7 separate regions of the Homo sapiens genome follow, and all the other regions are linked to region 6. The links are contacts of gene promoters, found by promoter capture Hi-C in blood cells and fetal thymus (Javierre and others, 2016). All regions are on one chromosome and are shown on one strand. The core of a region is centred on a gene start or on the middle of the fragment in contact, and the rest is flanking DNA. Distances in the headings are between cores, read along the strand shown.

Region 1 (2,748 bases), core at 192-2,691, 320 kb after region 6:
TCAAGGTTACCAGTGACTATGACATCAATAAATCCAGTAGTTAATCTGCAGTTGACCTCTCTTTTGTTTTTGAAACACTCTCTTTATTTAGCGTCCATTTAGCTCCTTCATTCGCTTTCTGCCCCAATGACTGCTTCTTAATTTCTTCTACTGGTTCTTCTTCATCCTCCTAGCCTCTAAATGCTGGACTGTCTCAGGTCTTGGTCTTCAAACTGCTGCTCTTCTCCATCTACACTCACTGCAATCTCATGGCTTTAAGTGCTGTCTACACGCTGAGTATTAAATCCTAAATGTGTATCTTTAGCTGACAACCTCTCCCTTGAACTCTGCACTCACATAACCAACAATCTAAACCTCTCCCTCCCATATGCTACCCCATCTCAGTAAATGGCAACTTCATTCTTCTAGTTGCTCAAGTCAAAAAGCCTTGTAAGGCCGGGTGTGGTGGCCCACGCCTGTAATCCCAACATTTTGGGAGGCCGAGGCAGGCAGATCACTTGAGGCCAGAAGTTCAAGACCAGACTGGACAACACGGCAAAACCGCATCTCTACTAAAAATACAAAAATTAGCCAGGTGTCGTGACCCTGGGAGGCGGAGCTTGCAGTGAACCGAGATGGTGCCACTGCACTCCAGCCTGGGCGAGAGAGCGAGACTCTGCCTAAAAAAAAAAAAAAAAAAAAAAAAAAAAAAAATTAGCCAGGCGTGGTGGTGCACACCTGTAATCCTAGATACTCAGGTGGCTGAGGCATGAGAATTGCTTGAACCTGGGAGGCAGAGGTTGCAGCGAGCCAAGATCACGCCACTGCACGCCAACCTGGGTGACAGAGCCAACAGAGCAAGACTGTCAAAAAAAAAAAAAAAAAGCCTTGTAATCATTCTCATCTCAGATTCCTTTACTAACCCTATAATCCAATCCAATCCATCAGCATTCCTGTAAAAGCTCTACTTTGAAAATATATCCTGAGTCGTTTTATCACCACTTCCCCTGCTATCCCTCCAGTCCAATCTACTTGGTATTACTGTATTAGCCACTTAACTAGTATCCCTGCTTCTCTCCTTGCCTCTTATAGTCTCTGCTCAACACAGTCGCCAGTGAATCTTTTAAAATGTCAGACCATGTCACTCCCATGCTCAAAACCCAATGGCTTTCAAGTTCATTCACACTGAAGTTCAAGTTTTTGCCATGATCTACGAGGCTCTAGAGATCAGTGCTTCTCAAGCTTATAATTGCATCCAAATTGCCTGGGGGAATCTTCTTAAAATACAGATTTCCTGATTCAGCAGCTTTGACATCCTGGGCCTTGACATCCTGCATTTCTAATAAGCTCCCAGATCATGAGATCCTGATATTAACACTGCTGATCTGAGGACCACATTTTGAGGAGCAAGATTCTAGAATAATCTGTACCACTTCCTACCTAATCTCTTTTTCCTAGCTTAATGCACTCCAACTCTATTGGCATTTGCCCACCTCAAGGCCTTTGCATAGGCTTTTCTGTTTGCTTGGAATGCTCTTCCCTAACAATCTGCATAGTTTATTTCCTTACTTTCTTAAGGTCTCTGCTCAAACGTGACGTAACAGCAAGCCTTCTCTGATGATCCAACATGAAATGACAGGTCCTACTATCTTCTTCTTTATATTATTTATTTTTAAGCTTTGTATAATTAATTTTAGAGACTATGTTGCCCAAGCTGGTCTTGAACTCCTGGCCTTAACAATCCTGCTTCTGCCTCCCAAGTGGTTGGGATTACAGGGACAAGCCACCATTCCCAGTACACTTCTTTTTTTTTCTTTTTTGAAACAGGGTCTAGCTCTGTGGCCAGGTTGCAGTGCAGTGGCATGATCATGGCTCACTGCAGCCCCTGCCTCCTGGGCTCAAGCAATTCTCCCACCCCAGCCTCCCAAGTAGCTGGAACTACAGGTGTGCACCACCACGCCTGGCTAACTTTTTTGTAATTTTGGTAGAGATGGGGTTTCACCATGTTGGCCAGGCTGGTCTCAAACCCCTGAGCTTGAGCAATCCAACCACCTTGGCTTCCCAAAGTGCTAGGATTACAGGTGTGAGCCACTGCGCCTGGCCACACTGTCTTCTTTATTTTTCTCTTTGGCTCTTACAACCATCTTACACACAGTGGTCCTCACCAATCTGTGTTCTCACTTTCTGGGGTTTCAGTTACCCGTGGTCAATCTCAAGTCTGAAAATATTAAATGAAATATTCCAGAAATAGGCTGGGCACAGTAGCTCACGCCTATAATCCCAGAACTTTGGGAGGCCAAGTTGGGCAGATCACCTGAGGTCAGGAGTTCGAGACCAGCCTGGCCAACATGGTGAAACCCCAGCTCTACTAAAAAATACAAAAAAAATTAGCTGGATGTGGTGGTGGGCACCTGTAATTCCAGCCACTTGGGAGGCTGAAGCAGGAGAATTGCTTGAACCTGTGAGGTGGAGGGTGCAGTGAGCCGATACCTTGCCACTGCACTCCAACCTGGGCGACAGAGCAAAACTCCGTCTCCAGAACAACAAAAAAACCCCCCAAGAATTAGCCAGGCGTGGTGGCACTTACCTGTAGTCCCAGCTGCTTGGGAAACTGAGGCAGGAGAATTGCTTGAGCCCAGGAGGTGAAGGTTGCAGTGGGCTGAGATTGAGCCACTGCACTCCAGCCTGGTCAACAAAGCAAGACCCTTATCTTAAAAAAATAAAAAGAAAGAAAGAAAGAAATATTCCAGAGATACACAATTCATAAAT
Region 2 (2,965 bases), core at 329-2,828, 430 kb after region 6:
GCACTGTGCGGGCTTGGGGAGGAGTGGCGTGGTCAGAAAGCAGCCATCCCCTTACCGTCCTCATGGTTTTTCTTGGCTCTGCCATCCCAGGGGATGCAAAGCTTCACTCCAAGTTCTGGGATATTCAGGGTGGTAAACTTGCCACAGGATTGTTGCTAGTTGAAATTCTGTTGGGGAGGAGAGAAGCCGGAGAACTCCTACTTTGACATTGTGTTGATGCCACTCTCAAAAAGGGAAATTCTGAATTACCCCATCCTCCCCCATCTCCCTGTGCTACTGCTCTGTCCCCAGTTCCATCCACCTTTCTTCTGGACTACAGCCTTGGCCCCCTAACGGGTGTCCCACCCCCGTGTTGATGTGGGTTGGACTTGGTGTTAGCTTTCTCCTCCCTGTGGTAGAGGATTAGGGTTCTCACAACCAACAGTTACCCCATTGTCAACTGCCATTGCATCCTGTTGCATCTTTTGAAGACCACCATCAAGAGGCTGTCTTTGTTGGTTTTCTGCCAGCTTTTCCTTGTAGACAGGAGCTCCCCTCTACGTGGCCTGTGCTCTGTGGATGTGTCCTGGAGCCTGTACTGACTCCACACTGGCAAAATAGACATGGGTAATGCTGTGGGTGGAACTGTGTCTCCCTCCAAAATCCACGTGCTGAAGCCCTAACTCCCAGGACCTCAGAATGGGGCCTTATTTGGAGACAGGGGCTTTAAAGAGGTGACTAAGTTAAAATGAGGTCATCAGGATGGGCCCTAATCCACTAAGAGAAGATTAGGACACACTCATGCACAAAGGCAAGACCATGTGAAGACATAGGTGGCAGGAAGGCCACCATTAGCAGGCCAAGGACAGAGGCCTCAGAGGACACCAACCTTGCCAACACGTTGACCTCTGACTTCCAGCCTCCAGAGCTGTGAGAAGATAAATCTCTGCAGCTTAAGCTATCGAGTCTGCAGTACTTTGTTATGGCGGCCCTAGAAAATTAATTTAGGCAGCCCAGGTGCAGTGGCTCATGCCTGCAATCTCAGCTCTTTGGGAGGCTGAGGTGGGAGGATCACTTGATCCCAGGAGTTTGAGACCAGCCTGGACAACATAGCAAGACCCCACTTCTTAAAAAAGAAATTAAAAAAAAATTAGCCAGGTGTGGTGGCACGCATCTGTAGCTCTAGCTACGTGGGAGGCTGAGGTAGGAAGATCATTTGAGTCTAGGAGCTGAGGCTATATGAGCCACGATTATACCACTGCACTCAAGCCAGGGCGACACAGTAAGACCCTGTCTCTAAAAAAATACAGGCAGGTATAATTATAAATTTGAATGGTGTCACAAAGGGCTGTGCTTCAGCATCATTTCTTTCAAAATATTTTCCTCCTTTTATTTTGTTGAAAAAAATGTATAAAATTTGTTTTTTATCTAAACACATTAGAACAATTATTAAGAATTCATGAGGTCTGGCCCCAGCATATTGCAGGGGCAGGAGGATTTAACTTTATTTAAAGATACAGCTCACCATTATTTACTTTTCAAAAAAGGAAGTTGGATGTGATATTTTCACAGTCAACCTTAAATGACCCATCCACTCCATTGGATCAGACGCCTTCTGAGGTGTGTGTTTTGCAGCCGCCCCACCCTGATGAGCTCCAGCGACAGAGTTCCTCATATCAGACCCATGAGAGTGGCCTTTTATGGAAGGAGCAGCCGGCTGGCAGCAGCTCCCTAACAATCCTGCAAGCTAAGATCCTCTCGACCGAGCACAGGAGAGAATTCAGGGGCAGGGAGGGGCAAACATTTACTAATAAGAGGGCTTGAGAAGATTTAAAGTCCTTTTTGGGGGTAAAAATAAAAGAAGACAAAAAGAAACCAAAAAAGTAAAAATCATAAATACTCTTTCTGAACCAAAAGGAGGCCAGCCTAGATTTCTGTTCACCAACAAAATGTGAACTTGGCCTCTCTCATTTTATGTCTAAAGTGCACACCTCAGGTCAGGCACGGTGGCTCTCACGCCTGTAATCACTGCATGTTCAGAGGCCAAGGCAGGAGGATTGCTTGAGCCCAGGAGTTCGAGACCAGCCTGGGCAACACAGGGAGACCTGATCTCTACTAAAAATACAAAAAATTAGCTGGGCGTCGTGGCACACACCTATAGCCCCAGCTACTTGGGAGGCTGAGGTGGGCGGATCCCTTGAGCCAGGAGTTCAAGGTTGCCATGAGCCATAATAGTGCCACTGCACAACAGCCTGAGTGACAGAATTAGATCCTGTCTCAAAAAAAAAAAAAAAAATTGCACACATTTCCCTTCAATCAACCTTGGAGAACATTTTTCACTTCGCGTGTGGCTAGATGTTTGAGAGTTGACTGAAAAGTAACACCTGCGGAACATGCAAGAGATCTGATTATTTGAGAAGGCCAGACCATTCTACCCGTTCAAAGAAATTCTGGAAGGGCGTGGTATATGAAGGCTTTTTTTTCCCCAAGAGGCCTCTAAAAGCCAGACGAACTAGGTGCAAATCCCAGCTTTGTCATTTGCAGCTGAATTGGGAAAGTTACCGCTCTGTGCCTCAGTTTCCTCATTTGTTAAATGGGAATCATATCTACCTTAGGGAGTTATTGTGAAGATTAAGTAAGTTAGTACTGTAAAGCATTGAGAACACTGCCTGGCACGTTGTCAGCCATCACTGACGAGACTGTTATTACCTGGACTATACTCACCAGCTCCTCACTGAAATATCTTTATGGGATTATATTTTAGTGTCTTGACCTTTGTCTTTGAGATTGTCTCCATGGAATAGTGTTTCTGTATAAATCCCAAGAAAATAAATTATCTAGGTCCCATTCTTTTTATTTGCATGTGGTTACAATATAAATACACTTGCCATTTTCCTCCCCTTCCAAAACTCTTCCCCATACCTAGGAATCCTACCCAACCCCCTAGTTGTTAATGACTCCCTTTCCTCTCCTCTAGGAGGGGAGG
Region 3 (2,700 bases), core at 20-2,519, 330 kb before region 6:
GGGGACAGAGCTGTCTCTCCTGCCCATCTGCAGGAAATAGTGTCTCTCAGGTCTCCACGTCAACAGACCAGAGCCAGGGGCAGTGCCTTCACTGGCAGATGGGCCCAGTGGCTAAGCCCAGGCTCCAGAAGGGGTGGTGACCCCACCCTCAGAGTGGAGGCCAAAGCAGGTGAACTTCCTCTAAGCACACAACGATGACGAGCTAAAGCTGGTTTGCGCCCTAATCAATGCAGTGTCCCTCCGAGCTCCTGGCCTAATGAAGGAAATGACAAGTTGATTGCCAGGACAATAAGAAATGACCACAGGAAAGACAAAATGCAGACACTCTATCTACAAGCAAACAAGTCTGGTTAATTAGTTTAAGATGAGTCAGGAGCCCGGGGAGATGGGAGGATTTTTAAATCAGCTACAGATAAAAATCAAGAATTTAAGAAGTGCGTTCAGCTTTTCTTGCTACATGAGATCTGAGCAGTTAATTCTGGCCTTGAATGACCTCCAGAGCCAACATTAAGGGGTGACTTAGCAAATGGTCCATGGGATTGCGAGGACAGTGGAAAGCCCTGTCCATGGCCCCACACGGTGCTCTCTTTGCAAAGAGCCTTGGGAGAGATTTCTTTCTGCCCCCCGCACTCCCAGGGCTTTTCATGAAATAGCGTTTGGCTCCTATCACGGCTCTCAGAACTGCTCAGGTTTCCTTTTGCTTTAGCTTTGAAGAAGCTCAGGGTCAAAATTCTGGCCCGTGGTAGCAACTGCATAGCATCTCATAGTACGCATGTTATGAGCTGACTTTATTCCCTGGCTTCATTGGATCCTTATTTCATCATTACCTGTTCCTCCTTACTTCCTCATTCATTTTCTTTTTGTCCTATTGCTTTGTAACTCTTTCTGCAAAGCTTCAGATACTTGTAGGAAACAAAAGAGGAAAATTATTCCCAAACTTTTAAAGATTACATGGGATTTTTAAAAACCACTGACACGTGGCTCCCACCCCCTAGACATTCTAGGGTATAATTTAGGTGCCGAGAGTTTTTAAAGCTCCCCAGGTGATTCTGGCAGTCATCAAAATTTGATATGAGTAGATACATAATACCCTCATCATCCGGCTTGCTCTTCTCAACCAACCTTATTCTCTCTAACCATAAACACTCTTAACCACCTATCTACCCCCGGTTCTCAAATTCCCATTCTCTCTCACACCCATCCAAAAATCCCTTTTACAGTTCAGGTCCAAATGCAAACTCTACATGTGCCACAAAATCTCCCCTGACTGTTCCAGTTTACCCTGGTTCCAGTTCACATTCATCTCTCTTTCTCTAGTGCACTTAGGAGATTTAGAGCAATGGGCCTCCGTGCCACTGGAGGAGATCGTACCTCTCACTGCTTCTGCATGTTTAGAATGGTTTGATATTGTGAAACCACAGTTCTGCAACACCACTCGAGATTTGTAGGTGAAAGGGAGGGAGCACCTTGCGGAGTCAGAAAAGGCATATGGAAAGGGTTTTATGCCGTGAATGGCCTGTCAGCTCAGGCATGCCAATCACCAGTGCCCTCAGGGAAGCTACGAACTCTGTGTCCTATTCAGGTCAAAATAAGAGAAGAAGCAAAGGAAAACTGCTGCTCTCAACTGAAATCTGAGGGAAGCTTGATCAGCCTGGACATGAGCTCAGAACAAAGGATGGGGAGACTGGGCTTCACCGAGGGGAGGTGAAAGGGTGCCGTGAACAGACACTCCTCCAGGGGCTGAGGGGTGAGAAACGCTGCCCGCCAGACCAGCCCATGCAGGGCAGCTGGACACTCAGGGGAGAAGGTGCTGGGCTCCTAGAACAAGAAGTCTCTCACCTGGGGCCTTATACCAAAGAAAGTAAGGATCGAGAATCTCACCAGGCCAGGCAGCACCCCTATCTACCTTGAGCCTAATCAGAGTAGCAGGACCTAGTATCCAACCAGAAAAGATTGAGTGGAATGATCCCCAATGAAAGAACTGGAGAAAGTGCTATGGAATCACAAGAAGGAAAAAAATTTATAGCTGGCCTCAAGAGTTTATTTGAAATAAATAGGTTTAGCTTGCTAACATGTCTCTATTGACTAAATACTATGTGAAACTTCTCTAATCTTTGCAGCTTGGTTATGCCTTATATTCCCCGCTAATCCTCACTTCCACCTACTTGCTATAGTGAATCACAGTAGAACACTGAAAAAGGCGTCTGCAAGTCCAAGTGCGGCGGCTCACACCTGTAATCCCAGCACTCCGGGAAGCTGAGCCAGGATGACCGCTTGAGCCTAGGAGTTCAAGACCAGCCTGAGCAACAAAGTGAGACCTTGTCTCTATAAAAAGTCTTAAAAATAGCCAGGCATAGTGGCATGCATCTGCTCCTCAGGGGGCTAAGGCAGGAGGATTGCTTGAGCTCAGGAGTTCGAGGCTCCAGTGAGCTAGGATTACCACTGCTCTCCAGCCTAGGCGACAGAACAAGACCCTGTCTCTCCCTCCCAAAAGCCTCTGCGGTTGTTTTCAGGGACAGCAAGGAAGAAGGGAGCCAGTCCCAGAAAAATAAAATAAAATAAAATAAGAGACAGTGTAGGTGGTGGCCGTTGCACAAGGAGAGGAAGCCAGACTGAATCCCTGGGGGCATCAGAGGAGCTGGCCTCAGTCAGAAAACCCTGGGAAGCCCCTCAGGGGCTCCCCCTAATTATATGCAACTC
Region 4 (2,724 bases), core at 27-2,526, 380 kb after region 6:
GGTTCTAAAAAGTGTCTTGCTAGAGAACATTTGTTCAAAGGGGCCACTTTAAAGCCTGCTATTCTAGTGTATACTGGCCGTAGTTTCTGAAATTGTAGCGAAGATGGAGAAATAATAACAGCATTCATAAGCACAACTGCAGATATTATACTTCTTAGTTTAAAAAAAACCTTTTTTTTTGGAACTATAAAATAAAAACACAGGCTACATACATACTCATTTTCTCAAATTGGCTTTTGTGCAAAAAAAGGTTGTTACCTATTGGGTTGCTTTGTTATTTCCTTAGAAAGATGTATTCCAAATTCCCAATGGCCAACCTGCACATGTGCACTCTGGGAACACAGTCAGTTTATTGGTTGGGGGTTGCTTGCCCGAAATCTGGGGTCATAGAGCCACTTCTCTCATTTTATTGTCTTGATCCTATCCATAGACCCGTTCTCACCAATCCCTCAAATTCTATTTATCCCTTTCCTGGAATACTAGATGTCTGCCCACGTTAATTCATGCCCCACCTAGGGTGCCGCATTTCCCAGCATTGGCTCCACTTGCTGTGAGCCTTGAAGAAGGCCAAAGCTTTGGCCCCGTCATCCTCCTTGCACCCCCAAACCCGTCACCAGCCTTGCTCCCCCAGATGCTTGTCCATCGTCCCCACCTACACACCCTTGCCCACCTCACCAGAGTTACAGTGCCGACAGCTCTCACAGTGGGGCCGGGTGTGGTGGTCAGGAGAGAAGGAGACCCCCGGTATGCAAGGATCACACTGAGCAGCCTTTCTATGCTGGTCACAGTCCTTCACGAGGAATGTTCCTGGGAGGAGAGGGTAAGGGATCAAGGCCTGAGAAGGGCTGGTTCTCTGCCCTCTTCAAGGTGGTGCCTCCCCACAGCTGCAGGATTTCCCTCCTTGCTTGAGCTCAGTCTCACCCTGCGCCTATTTACTGTATTAACCCCAGTCCTCTCTCTTTCGCCACTCACCTGGCCCTTACCAAGGCCCCCTCTTACCTGGCTCACACATCTGGCAGCACAGCTTTCCCTGAGCCCAGTAGTGCCTCTCTGGGCAGCTCTTGGGGGCTGGAGTAGCTGAGAGCCCCACCAGGGTCCCCAGAACGCACAGCCACCAGGGATGTGGCCGTGCCATGGTCCCTGCCCAGGCGGCTCCTTTCTGTGCCCAGTTGCTGATGCTGGCCTCTGGAGTTAGCACCTCCAAGCTGGGCGCTGCTGTCTCTTCTTTGCACCCCCTGGGCAGTGGCTGCTTCAGGTGGCAAGCCAACCTTTGAAGGCAGAATCTCTATTGTGGCTGTTTTTTTTTTCTCTCTCATAGCAGCAACCTCCACCCCCTTCCCCTTCCGTGTGCTGGGGAGAGTATTAAAGAGCAAACTCTGTGAGACCTGCTGCTCTTCAAACATGCTTCCTCCAACACATGAGCCTTCCTTAGTTTCCGCCTCTCCTGCTCATGAAGCACGTAGCCCACTGACTCCTGCTTCTTTGACAAAAAGGTGATGGACACACAGTTGCTCACCCCTCCTATTCATGCACTTGTGCACAAAGGTGCCCACGTTACCCCCCCCCACCCACCCCCCCGTCCACAGTTTACAGACGAATTCGCAGGACTCCTGTCTCCCATACCTGCATCCCTCCTTTCACAGACAACAGTTGAAAGAAGGAAGGAGAACCAGAATTGAGCACAGGTCCACAAGCTCTTATCTGAAACTTTGGGGGTCAGATAAGTTTTGGAATTCAGAATTTTTCAGGTTTATACAGAAACCAGCACCACAAAACACCCTTGGGGAGTTGGGGTAGTCTCATAATCAAACGCAACATTTCTGCAGCAAAACTATTGAATATTTACACCAACTGGGAGGAAGCTTAAATAGCCTTGTCTCAATTGAGGTCTGGTTTGATGGCCAAACGAGTTTGCTACAGAATGCTCAGAATTGCAAGCAAGGGGTGTAGAGCTGCCTCTCTTCTGTCACACTCTGACCGATCACCTATGCTCTCCTTTAATCCTCATGTCAGTCTCTGATGTGGGTGCCACCTACTGCCCACATGGCCTTCCCTCTCAGACCCTTGCTCACTCCTCACTTTTGTGCCATCTTTATCCTCCCCTTTCCCACCTCTGGCTGTGTCAGTCACTGGTGTCCTGGATCGCCTGGAGCATCTTCTCTCCTAGCCTTGGGCACTTGGGATTAAAGGTAGCTTCCTACGGGGGTCATCTCTTTTTTATTTTCCCAGTTCTCCCAGCAAGACTGATTTCGGGATATTGGAAACAGCTAGACTTTTCCCTCTTTGAGTCATGGGGACACACACGGGTCAACAGCCTCCTCCACTCTTTCCTCAGCAACCGATATGTGGAGTGGCTTATTTCCCCAGGAAGTTTTTAATTTAGGGGCTTTGCCGTTGTTTCCACACTGTTCATAAATGTCACACTGCTGTGGTCACACCTGTCAGATCTGTTCTCTATCTCACTCTGTAGTTTCCTTTCTCCTCATTTTCTCCATTCTCTTGTCTTTTCCCAGCCCCCTCTGCAGCTCTTCATGGGGGTCCACTCAAGTCAGAAGCCACATTTGGGTGTGATTCAGAGAGCTGTTTATGCAAAACCAGCTTTGTCACCATCAGGCAAGGCACCTGAATTCCCACCGCAGAGAGTGTTGTGGCCGTGAGGACTTTTCTGTCACCAGCCATTTCCAGGTTGTGGTAAATGTGTTCACTGCAGGCATGGGGCAGTGG
Region 5 (2,700 bases), core at 201-2,700, 350 kb after region 6:
GCGTGAGTCACCATTCAATGATTTTAAGTTTTTTTTCAGGGGAAAGTTGGTGGGAATAAATAGGCATTCATGCTGCCAGAAATATTTCCTCCCATTCTTTTTTCTTTTCTTTTTCTTTCTTTCTTTCTTTTTTTTTTTTTTTTTGAGACAGTCTCATTCTGTTGCCCAGGTTGGAGTGCAGTGGCAAGATCTCGGCTTACTGCAGCCTCCGCCTCCCGGGTTCAAGTGATCCTCCTGCCTCAGTCTCCCGAGTAGCTGGGACTACAGGCGTCCATGCCCAGCTAATTTTTGTATTTTTAGTAGAGACGGGATTTTGCTGCGTTAGCCAGGTTGGTCTTGAACTCCTGGCTTCAAGTGATCCGCCCTCCTTGGCCTCCCACATTGCTGGGATTACAGGTGTGAGTTACTGCGCCTGGCCCTTTTTCTTTTCTTTTGGAGATAGGGTCTCATTTTGTCACCCAGGTGGGAGTGCAGTGGCGTGATCTCGGCTCACTGCAACCGGAACATCTGGGCTCAAGCTGTCCTTCCGCCTCAGCCCCCCAAATAGCTGGGACTACGGGAGTGAGCCACCACGCCCGGCCCCATTCTTTTTGTCTTTGGGGGCTTATAATTTTTTGCAAATTTTCCCAAATTGTCATTTTTCCCCCTAACTTGCCATTTTGATGTGGTTTCAGGAGGAGAATGGGATAAACACATATGATGAATGCATTATGTTTCCAAGTGCAATTGTTTCCTTAAGAAGACTTGTGACATTTGGATAGATAACTTTGGTGGACTTTTTAGAGAATAGATGTAAAGGATGGCAAGACTGGAAGCAGAATGATGTATCATTGATCTTAGGAGGCACTTGGGTTTTTTGTGTGTGCTTGTTTGTTTGTTTTTTTGCATTTCAATATCTTCTAATTGGGATGTTTCACTTTAGCTATTAGTCAGACAGCAGTCAAACTATATTTGTCATACCTGCTCATGAGCATCAAAGCTTGCCAAATGGGTGTCTGAGGCTTGGAAGAAAACTCTAGAGCCTGGAGAGGAACACTCTTAGGAAATGCTGCATCACCAAAGCCCTTATGAAATGCACAGAGGACTACATTGCGTGGAAATTAGTGGACATCCAAGACTGAGTCAAAAAAGTGAATCATTAACAATCAGTCTCTGTGAAGTTTTAGGGATAGTTACCATGTTATTGTTTTCTATTTCCCTTTTTATGCATGCACAAGAGTGAAATATAGAAATCGGTATGTATATAAACCCATATTTTCAATACATGTAAAACAAAAATGCTAAGTGGTAAGGAAAGCATTTGTCACAGATAATTTGCAACCTTTTTTCTTTTTTTTTTTGAAACAGGGTCTTGCTCTGTTGCCCAGGCTGGAGTGCAGTGGCGTGATCTCGGCTCACTGCAACCGTCGGCTCCCGGCTTCAAGCGATTCTCTTATCTCAGCCTCACGAGTAGCTGGGATTACAGGCGCCCGCCACCATGCCTGGCTGTTTTGTATTTTTAGTAGAGACAGAGGTTTCGCCATGTTGGCCAGGCTGGTCTCGAACTCCTGATCTCAGGTAATCTGCCTGACTCGGCCTCCCAAAGTGCTGGGATTACAGGTGTGAGCCACTGCGCCCGGCCTTGTAACCTTTTTTCTTAGCGGGACATAAAATAATGGTGAATTTTCCAACTGATGGAGTCCAGGAAAGGGATAATAGTGAGCAGAGGGGAGATAATCACTGGAATGCCAAGAAGGAAAAATCAACTCGATTTGGCAGATTACTGGGGGAGAGGTAAAGGTGAAGGGGAGGAAATCTAGGATGGTTTCCACGTTTCTGGTCTGGGCAACTGAGTCGATGTGGTAACCTCGACTGGAGCAGGTTTGGGAGGGAGTTCAATTTAGGAAGGCTATGTTGAAAGAAACGAATGAACGAAAGCTTCGTGCTTGCTTTGGTGGGACGGAACCCCGCATCCGGTATCTGGCACCAGGAGCTTGTGGCTGTGTCTCGAGGCTCCTGCACCCTCTCAGAGCGTTAGTTAGAGGCGGGGCGGTGGTGCGGAGCGAGGGCCAGAGCAGGGCACCAGGGCTGGGCGCGCACCAGGAAGCCGCCGCCTCCAGCTGAATGCGCGAGTCCCGGCGCGGGGTGGGGCAGGGGCGGGCACGGTCTTCAGTAACTGCCTAGCGATTGGTTGGGAGGCACCACAAATGCCTAACAAACTGCTGAAGCGCCCTCCGAAGGGACAGACCTCATCTCCACCCCGCCCCGTCCCTCCGCCAGACTGGAGCGCAAACTATGGTCGCATTGATCACTGAAGGATCCTCACAGCAACCGCTCCTTTCCGGAGTCGGATGAGAGGAGAGTTGTGACTGGCAATTGGCAGGGGCGGGGCGGGCTAGGCCTGTAGCGCTGGGCGACCGTCCTGGGCATGGATTGGGCCGCGGGGTTGTCACCGTTATCCGGGAGGCGTGGTCAGCACTAATAAAGGCGGAGGCCGGCGCGGCAGCTGCAGTAAGTTCCAGCGCAGCTAGACCGCGGGGTAGTCGGCGCGAGGCGGAGCTTGGCAGTTCCGTCCACTTCAGCCGCAGCGTCCCTCACCGGGTGTCTCGCCGCAGCCTCCGGAGAGGAACAGACCCTCACTCTCTCTGTCAGAAAAATGTGAGTTGACTCTGGTGTGGGGGCTCGGCACCTCCTTGACAACTCTCGCCCCAAGCTCCCGAT
Region 6 (2,774 bases), core at 242-2,741:
ACAGCTAAACACCCCACACAGATGAGAGCCGCACTCTTCCAGACCTCTAGGGAAGAAGGTATTCCCACCTCCCTGTCTCCTTTAGCCCTTCCTCCTCCCGCTGGAACTCCCAGGTTCCTTCTTAGAACATCCCCTGCTCAGCACTACTCCACCCCTATCTTCAAGTCCCTAAATGTCTCTTCAGAACTACTGATGGGAGACACAAGACTGGTTTCCTCTTGAGGGTTCACAGTGAACTGGGATATGGCATCACAGCCTTCCTCCCCTACCTGCCGGTCTCCTGGATGCAGGGGTCTTGGTGCTTAGCCCCTACTTCCCCAAACCTGGGTGATCACCCTCCAGCTACCCATATCTGGGAAAATGGGAGAAAGGAGTCTGGGACCGAAGGGGGTGCTAGGGAACCTGAAGGCGGGGAAACCGCTGACATCAGAAGCATCCAGAAATGGAAAGAGGGGGAACTAGGGAGAAGGAGGAGAGTTTGAGCAGAAGAGAAAGAGGGGGCAAAGTGGTAGTATCTGAAAATAGCAGGAAAAGCTCAAACCCCCTGGAGAGGAGGCTTTGGAGGGAGGAGGGACTGGAGGAGGGAGGGAGGGAGGGAGCAGGGAATAGGAGGCTGAGAAGAAAAGCCAAATGTTCAATAAGGTGCTGACTCCCCGTGGGGAGACCTTGACTCTTCCTCCCTGGCCCAGAGCCTCAGTTTCCCTCTCATGGGAGGAAGGATGGTCCCAGTTTTAGTGCGTGATGCTGAGCTTCAGTGAGCCCTGGGAAGGGGGGTAAGGGAATCGGGTGAAACCCTGAACAGAGTGGGGCTGTAAGGAAGCACATAATGGCTTTAGGGTAAGTGGGGTAAAAATGGGGCACAGCAGTGAAAGGGTCTGTTTCCCATGGAAGCAGCTCAGACCCTTGCTTTCCCCAAGAGGTCCTGGTCCACCCCCACCCTTGGCTTCCCTCCGGAGCCCAGTACACCCTAGTTGCCATGGCAATGGCCAGCCAGAGGGAGGTGGAGGGACTTGGCCAAGAGCAGCCCCCAGTGTCCTCTCCTACAGCCCTGGACCCCTTCCCACCCACCTCCACCCAGGCCCAGCTGGTGGGCTCAGGATGAAAGAGATAGGGAGTCAGAGAGGGAAGGAGGCAGGAAAGATGTGAAGGACAGAGAGAGGGAGGTGAAGGACAGGGAGAGATCAGAGGAAGGTGGGAAGGGGGATCTGGGAGGTTCCCTGGCCGACGGGGTCCCTCGCCCTTTGGGGTGAAGGGGTAAGGTCAGGCGGCTCCTCCCTCCTGTCCCCCTCCAGGTTCTCCAGGGCAGAAACAGCAGGTGGCTGGGGAGGAGGGGCCGGCCTAGGGGAGAGGAGGCAGCTTGAGGGGGAAAGGGAGGCAACACAGGGGACGGGGCAGGCAGGGGTCGTCTTACCTCTCTCCGGCTGCGCCCAGCACTGCCATGGAGACCGCACTCCCGACGCGGCTCTCTCGGGCTCCCGCTGCCTGCCGGCTCCAGCTCGCCCGCCCTCCTCCCTCCTTCCCTCTCTCCCTCCCTCCCTTCCCCCGGGCCTCCCTCCTCCCCCTCAGTCCCGGCCTCCCAGGCTCAGCCCACGGCTCACTCGGTCTCTGCCCCTCTCACTCTCCAGGACCCTCTCTCCCGGGGTCGTCCTGCCAGTGAGCCCAGGCCAGAGGGAAGGCAGGACAGCTTTGTGGGGGGCGGGGGGGGGCGGGAAACGAGTGCAGGGTGGGGAACTGGACGGTGGTGACTCGGGGAGGAGGGGCAAGGAAGGCGCTGAGAGGGAGGGCGGTGAGGAGGATGGCTGGGAACCGGCTTCATTGGTGAAATGGTTCATGTCCTGCCCCCACCCCTTCCCGTTTTCAACACGAACACAAGCTCCAAGAGGCAGCTGGTGTTGTTGGGGACTGAGGAGCTAGCTGTTCGGGGAGGAGGAAGCGTGTGTCACTGTGTGTATCTGTGTGAGGGCTGGGCCTTGGGTTTGGGAGTGAGGGGGCTTGTGGTGCACACTGGGGCTGCTTGTGGAGTTGGGGGTGGTTGTGCACAAGCTAAAAGGATGTGGGCGCATGCATGCACACAGACACACACACTCTGCCTCCTCCTCCTGGAACACAAACACATATGTTGGGGATACAATTTGCACACACATGTTACAGTTTCTCATAGTCCTTTTTCTCTGCCACACACATACACCAGGAGAGCTCACACAACCCTGAGTCTCTCCCCCACGGTATATCACACACATGTAATTACAGAGTCTCAGCCTCACACACACACAGGCCCACACAGAGCCCTGTGGGTTGTGGAGGTGGGTAGCCAGCCTCCACAGAATTTTTCCCTCTCCAGGGAAACTTCATCTCCTTCCTGGGGCACGCCCAGCAACCTCTCCTCTGGGTCCGACCCCAAAGACCAGAAGATTCCTGGTCCCCAGAGAAGGGGTCTCTCTCTCTCTCTCTCTCTCACACACACACACACACACACACACACACACACACACACACGAAGAGCATCTTTATAGTAAGTTTATTGTATTTTTATTTCAGCTCAGGGGAGCAGGGGTGGAGAGTGGGCACAAATGCAAAGTAAGCAAATGGGGAGCCCCAGCAGCAATAGGGGGGTCTTCCTGGAAGAGGCAGGCTTTAAAGACAGGAGGAGAAGGAAATAGGGAAAAGGAGTTGGGACTGAGGGAAGTGGTGAGGAAGGGTAGGAAGAGAGGGGATCCTGAGAGAAGTGGATCAAGAAGATTTGTAACCCTGATTTCCCTGTGTCCTGAATGGTC
Region 7 (2,700 bases), core at 116-2,615, 410 kb after region 6:
AGTGGAGGAAATGGCGAGTTGTAATGAGGATTAAAAGTGATAGAACTTGTGCTTCATATGCTGTTACACATTGTATCAATGTTTGTTTGTTTCAATAGTCTACAAGCTTCTTGAAGGTAGGAATCATGTCGCAGACATTCCTGTCCCTAGCATGGCACCTGATGCCAGCAGGTGCTTAGTGAACCTATGAGTGAATCTCTTAGAAGGATGAAGGAAAGAACTGATTTCCCTATAAGACTTTAGTGCTGTGAGAATTTTCTGGACTCTCTCGTTTTAATTTTCTGGACTCTCTAATTTTATTTTTATTTTTATTTTTTATGTTTTTGAGACAGAGTCTCTCTGTGCTGTCCAGGCTGGAGTGCAGTGGCACGATCTTGGCTCAGCACAACCTCTGCCTCCCAGGTTCAAGTGATTCTCCCCTCTCAGCCTCCCAAGTAGCTGGAATTACAGGTGTGCACCACCACACCCAGCTAATTTTTTGTATTTTTAGTAAAGACGGGGTTTCGCCATGTTGCCCAGGCTGGTCTTGAATGCCTGAGCTCAGGCAGTCTGCCTGCCTTGGCCTCCCAAAGTGCTATGATTACAGGTGTGAACCACCATGCCTGGCCAATTTTTTTTTTTTTTTTAATTTTTAGTAGAGACAGGGTTTCACCATGTTGGCCAGGCTGGTCTTTAACTCCTGACCTCAAATGATTCACTCGCCTCGACCTCCCAAAGTGCTGGGATTACAGGAGTGAGCCACTGCACCCGGCCTTTCTTGATCTTAATTGATCTAACAGGCAATAGTTTGTTCAAAATAATAATAGCATCGTGTATTTGGTCATATATATATATGTTACACATAAGTAAAATGAATGATGGTAGTAATACAAAGGATGGGGGAAGTAATTAGGATTATTTTGTTATTATAAGGTACTTGCACTACATGTGAAGTAGTATGGTGTTATTTGAAAGCAGACTTGGATTAGTTTTAACTGTATATTGTAAACTCCAGAGCAATCACTAAAATAAAAGAAATGGAAAAAAAACAAGTATAGCTGATATGCTAAGAGCAAGGAGAGAAAATGGAATAATACAAATGCTCACTTAAAATTACAAAAGCCAGAAAAAGAGCGGAAGATAAAAGTAGGAACAAACAAGAGCAACAATGAGAAAACAGTAACAAATATGATAGGTATGAATCCAACTATGTCAATAATCACCTCGAATGTCAGTGGGGTCTGAATGCATCAATTAAAAGACAGAGACTGTCAGAATGAATTTTTAAAAAGCCCCAACTATATGTTGTCTACAATAAACCCATTTTAAATATAAAGGCACATACAGACCAAAAGTGAGTGGATGGAGAAAGATATAGTTAGCATTAATTAAAACATAGTGGGGCTGGGTGCAGTGGCTCACATCTGTAATCCCAACACTTTGGGAGGCTGAGGCGGGTGGATCATGAGGTCAGGAGTTCGAGACCAGCCTGCCCAACATGGTGAAACCCCATCTCTGCTAAAAATACAAAAATTAGCCAGGGCTGGTGGCGTGTGCCTGTAATCCCAGCTTCTTGGGAGGCTGAGGCAGGAGAATTACTTGAATCCGGGAGGCAGAGGTTGCAGTGAGCTGAGATTGCGCCATTGCACTCCAGCTCTGGGAGACAGAGCAAGACTCCATCTTGAAAAAAAAAAAAAAGGAAAAAAAAACAACAGTGGGCGTAGCTATATTAATTTCAGATGGAGCAAATTTCAGAGTAAGCAAAATTATCAGGCAGAAAGAGGGGCATTAGTTTCAGATGGAGCAAACTTCAGAGTAAGCAAAATTATCAGGCAGAAAGAGGGGCATTACATAATGATAAGGGGGTCAATTCTGCAAGAAGACATAATCCTTGCTGTGTTGCACCTAATAACAGAGCATCAAAAATACATGAGGCAAAAATTGTTACAATTGCAAGGAGAAATGATGAATCCACTATTAGAGATGGAGACTTCAACATCCTTCTTCCAGAAATGGACAGATCCAGCAGGCAGAAAATCATTAAGGATGTAGTTGAAATCAGCAACACCATAAATAACTGGATATAATGAACATCTGTAGACTGCTTCACTCAGCAATGCATTCTTCTTACAGTCACATGGAACATTCACCAAGATAGACCACACTGTGGACCATAAAGCACACCTTAACAAATTTAAAAGAGTAGAAATTATGCAATGCCTGCTCTCAAACTACAATGAATTAAAGTAGAAATCAATAACAGAAAGATAGCTGAAAAATCTCAAAATACTTAGAAATTAAACAATGTGATTCAAACAACCCGTGGGTCAAAGAAGAAATCGCAAGAGAAATTTTAAAATATTTTGAACTAATGAAAATGAAAACACAACTTATCAAAATTTGTGGGATACAGCGAAAGTAGTGCTTAGAGGGAAATTTATAGCATTGCATGCATTATAGTAGGAAAGAAGAAAGATTTATTATACAATCAACTACCTTAGAAACTAGAAAAAAAAGAGTAAACTAAATCCAAAGCAAGCAGAAGAGAAGAAATATAACGATTAGAACAGAAAGCAATAAAATTGAGAACAGGAAATGAGTAGAGAAAATCAACAAAACCAACAACTGGTTCTTTGAAAAGCTTAATAAAATTGGTAAGCCTCTAGTGAGACTAACCAAGAAAAAAATCAAGACAGAAATTACTAATGTCAGAAGTGAAAG

What was found. Contacts are between HindIII fragments. The CHiCAGO score rates a contact against its expected background, and 5 or more counts as called.
Region 1: a fragment that was not itself captured here is called in contact with the fragment with the promoter of GPR162 in region 6 in 3 of 17 cell types (non-activated CD4 T cells, activated CD4 T cells and naive CD4 T cells); the score reaches 6.4 in non-activated CD4 T cells.
Region 2: a contact is called between a fragment that was not itself captured here and the fragment with the promoter of GPR162 in region 6, in 2 of 17 cell types (non-activated CD4 T cells and total CD4 T cells). The highest score is 6.7, in non-activated CD4 T cells.
Region 3: a contact is called between a fragment that was not itself captured here and the fragment with the promoter of GPR162 in region 6, in 2 of 17 cell types (total CD8 T cells and total B cells). The highest score is 5.8, in total CD8 T cells.
Region 4: the fragment with the promoter of CD27 here is called in contact with the fragment with the promoter of GPR162 in region 6 in 4 of 17 cell types (total CD4 T cells, activated CD4 T cells, naive CD4 T cells and 1 more); the score reaches 6.5 in total CD4 T cells.
Region 5: a fragment that was not itself captured here is called in contact with the fragment with the promoter of GPR162 in region 6 in 3 of 17 cell types (non-activated CD4 T cells, total CD4 T cells and naive CD4 T cells); the score reaches 8.1 in non-activated CD4 T cells.
Region 7: a fragment that was not itself captured here is called in contact with the fragment with the promoter of GPR162 in region 6 in 1 of 17 cell types (activated CD4 T cells); the score reaches 5.1 in activated CD4 T cells.

Annotation. Positions count from the first base shown.
Region 1 is chr12:6,499,173-6,501,920 of GRCh38, reverse strand. All of the region lies in intron 2 of NCAPD2 (non-SMC condensin I complex subunit D2), which reads right to left. Among named protein-coding and RNA genes, the nearest start is that of NCAPD2, 6.4 kb to the right of the region's middle. The HindIII fragment of the contact is 435 bases long and covers 1,224-1,658 here.
Region 2 is chr12:6,391,419-6,394,383 of GRCh38, reverse strand. LTBR (lymphotoxin beta receptor) reads right to left here. Exons shown (of 10, transcript NM_002342.3): 10 at 2,818-2,965. Among named protein-coding and RNA genes, the nearest start is that of LTBR, 8.7 kb to the right of the region's middle. RefSeq lists an enhancer at 2,911-2,965. The HindIII fragment of the contact is 2,950 bases long and covers 104-2,965 here.
Region 3 is chr12:7,152,955-7,155,654 of GRCh38, reverse strand. The region is part of intron 16 of CLSTN3 (calsyntenin 3); the gene reads right to left. Among named protein-coding and RNA genes, the nearest start is that of CLSTN3, 24 kb to the right of the region's middle. The HindIII fragment of the contact is 748 bases long and covers 896-1,643 here.
Region 4 is chr12:6,443,507-6,446,230 of GRCh38, reverse strand. It overlaps CD27 (CD27 molecule), which reads right to left and starts at 1,276. Exons shown (of 6, transcript NM_001242.5): 1 at 1,000-1,276; 2 at 676-807. The coding sequence starts at 1,135. It overlaps CD27-AS1 (CD27 antisense RNA 1), which reads left to right. Exons shown (of 6, transcript NR_015382.2): 5 at 2,514-2,685. RefSeq lists enhancers at 1-115, 825-1,004, 1,035-1,094, 639-1,140, 2,045-2,094 and 1 more. The HindIII fragment of the contact is 1,289 bases long and covers 576-1,864 here.
Region 5 is chr12:6,470,467-6,473,166 of GRCh38, reverse strand. VAMP1 (vesicle associated membrane protein 1) reads left to right here and starts at 2,490. Exons shown (of 5, transcript NM_014231.5): 1 at 2,490-2,637. The coding sequence starts at 2,636. It also overlaps a transcript of TAPBPL not described here. RefSeq lists silencers at 1,939-2,198, 2,409-2,458. The HindIII fragment of the contact is 938 bases long and covers 982-1,919 here.
Region 6 is chr12:6,820,538-6,823,311 of GRCh38, reverse strand. GPR162 (G protein-coupled receptor 162) reads right to left here and starts at 1,491. Exons shown (of 5, transcript NM_019858.2): 1 at 1,412-1,491. It overlaps CD4 (CD4 molecule), which reads right to left. Exons shown (of 10, transcript NM_000616.5): 10 at 2,513-2,774. RefSeq lists an enhancer at 1,508-2,480. The HindIII fragment of the contact is 21,739 bases long and covers 1-2,774 here.
Region 7 is chr12:6,414,004-6,416,703 of GRCh38, reverse strand. No RefSeq gene overlaps it. Among named protein-coding and RNA genes, the nearest start is that of CD27, 30 kb to the left of the region's middle. The HindIII fragment of the contact is 2,514 bases long and covers 109-2,622 here.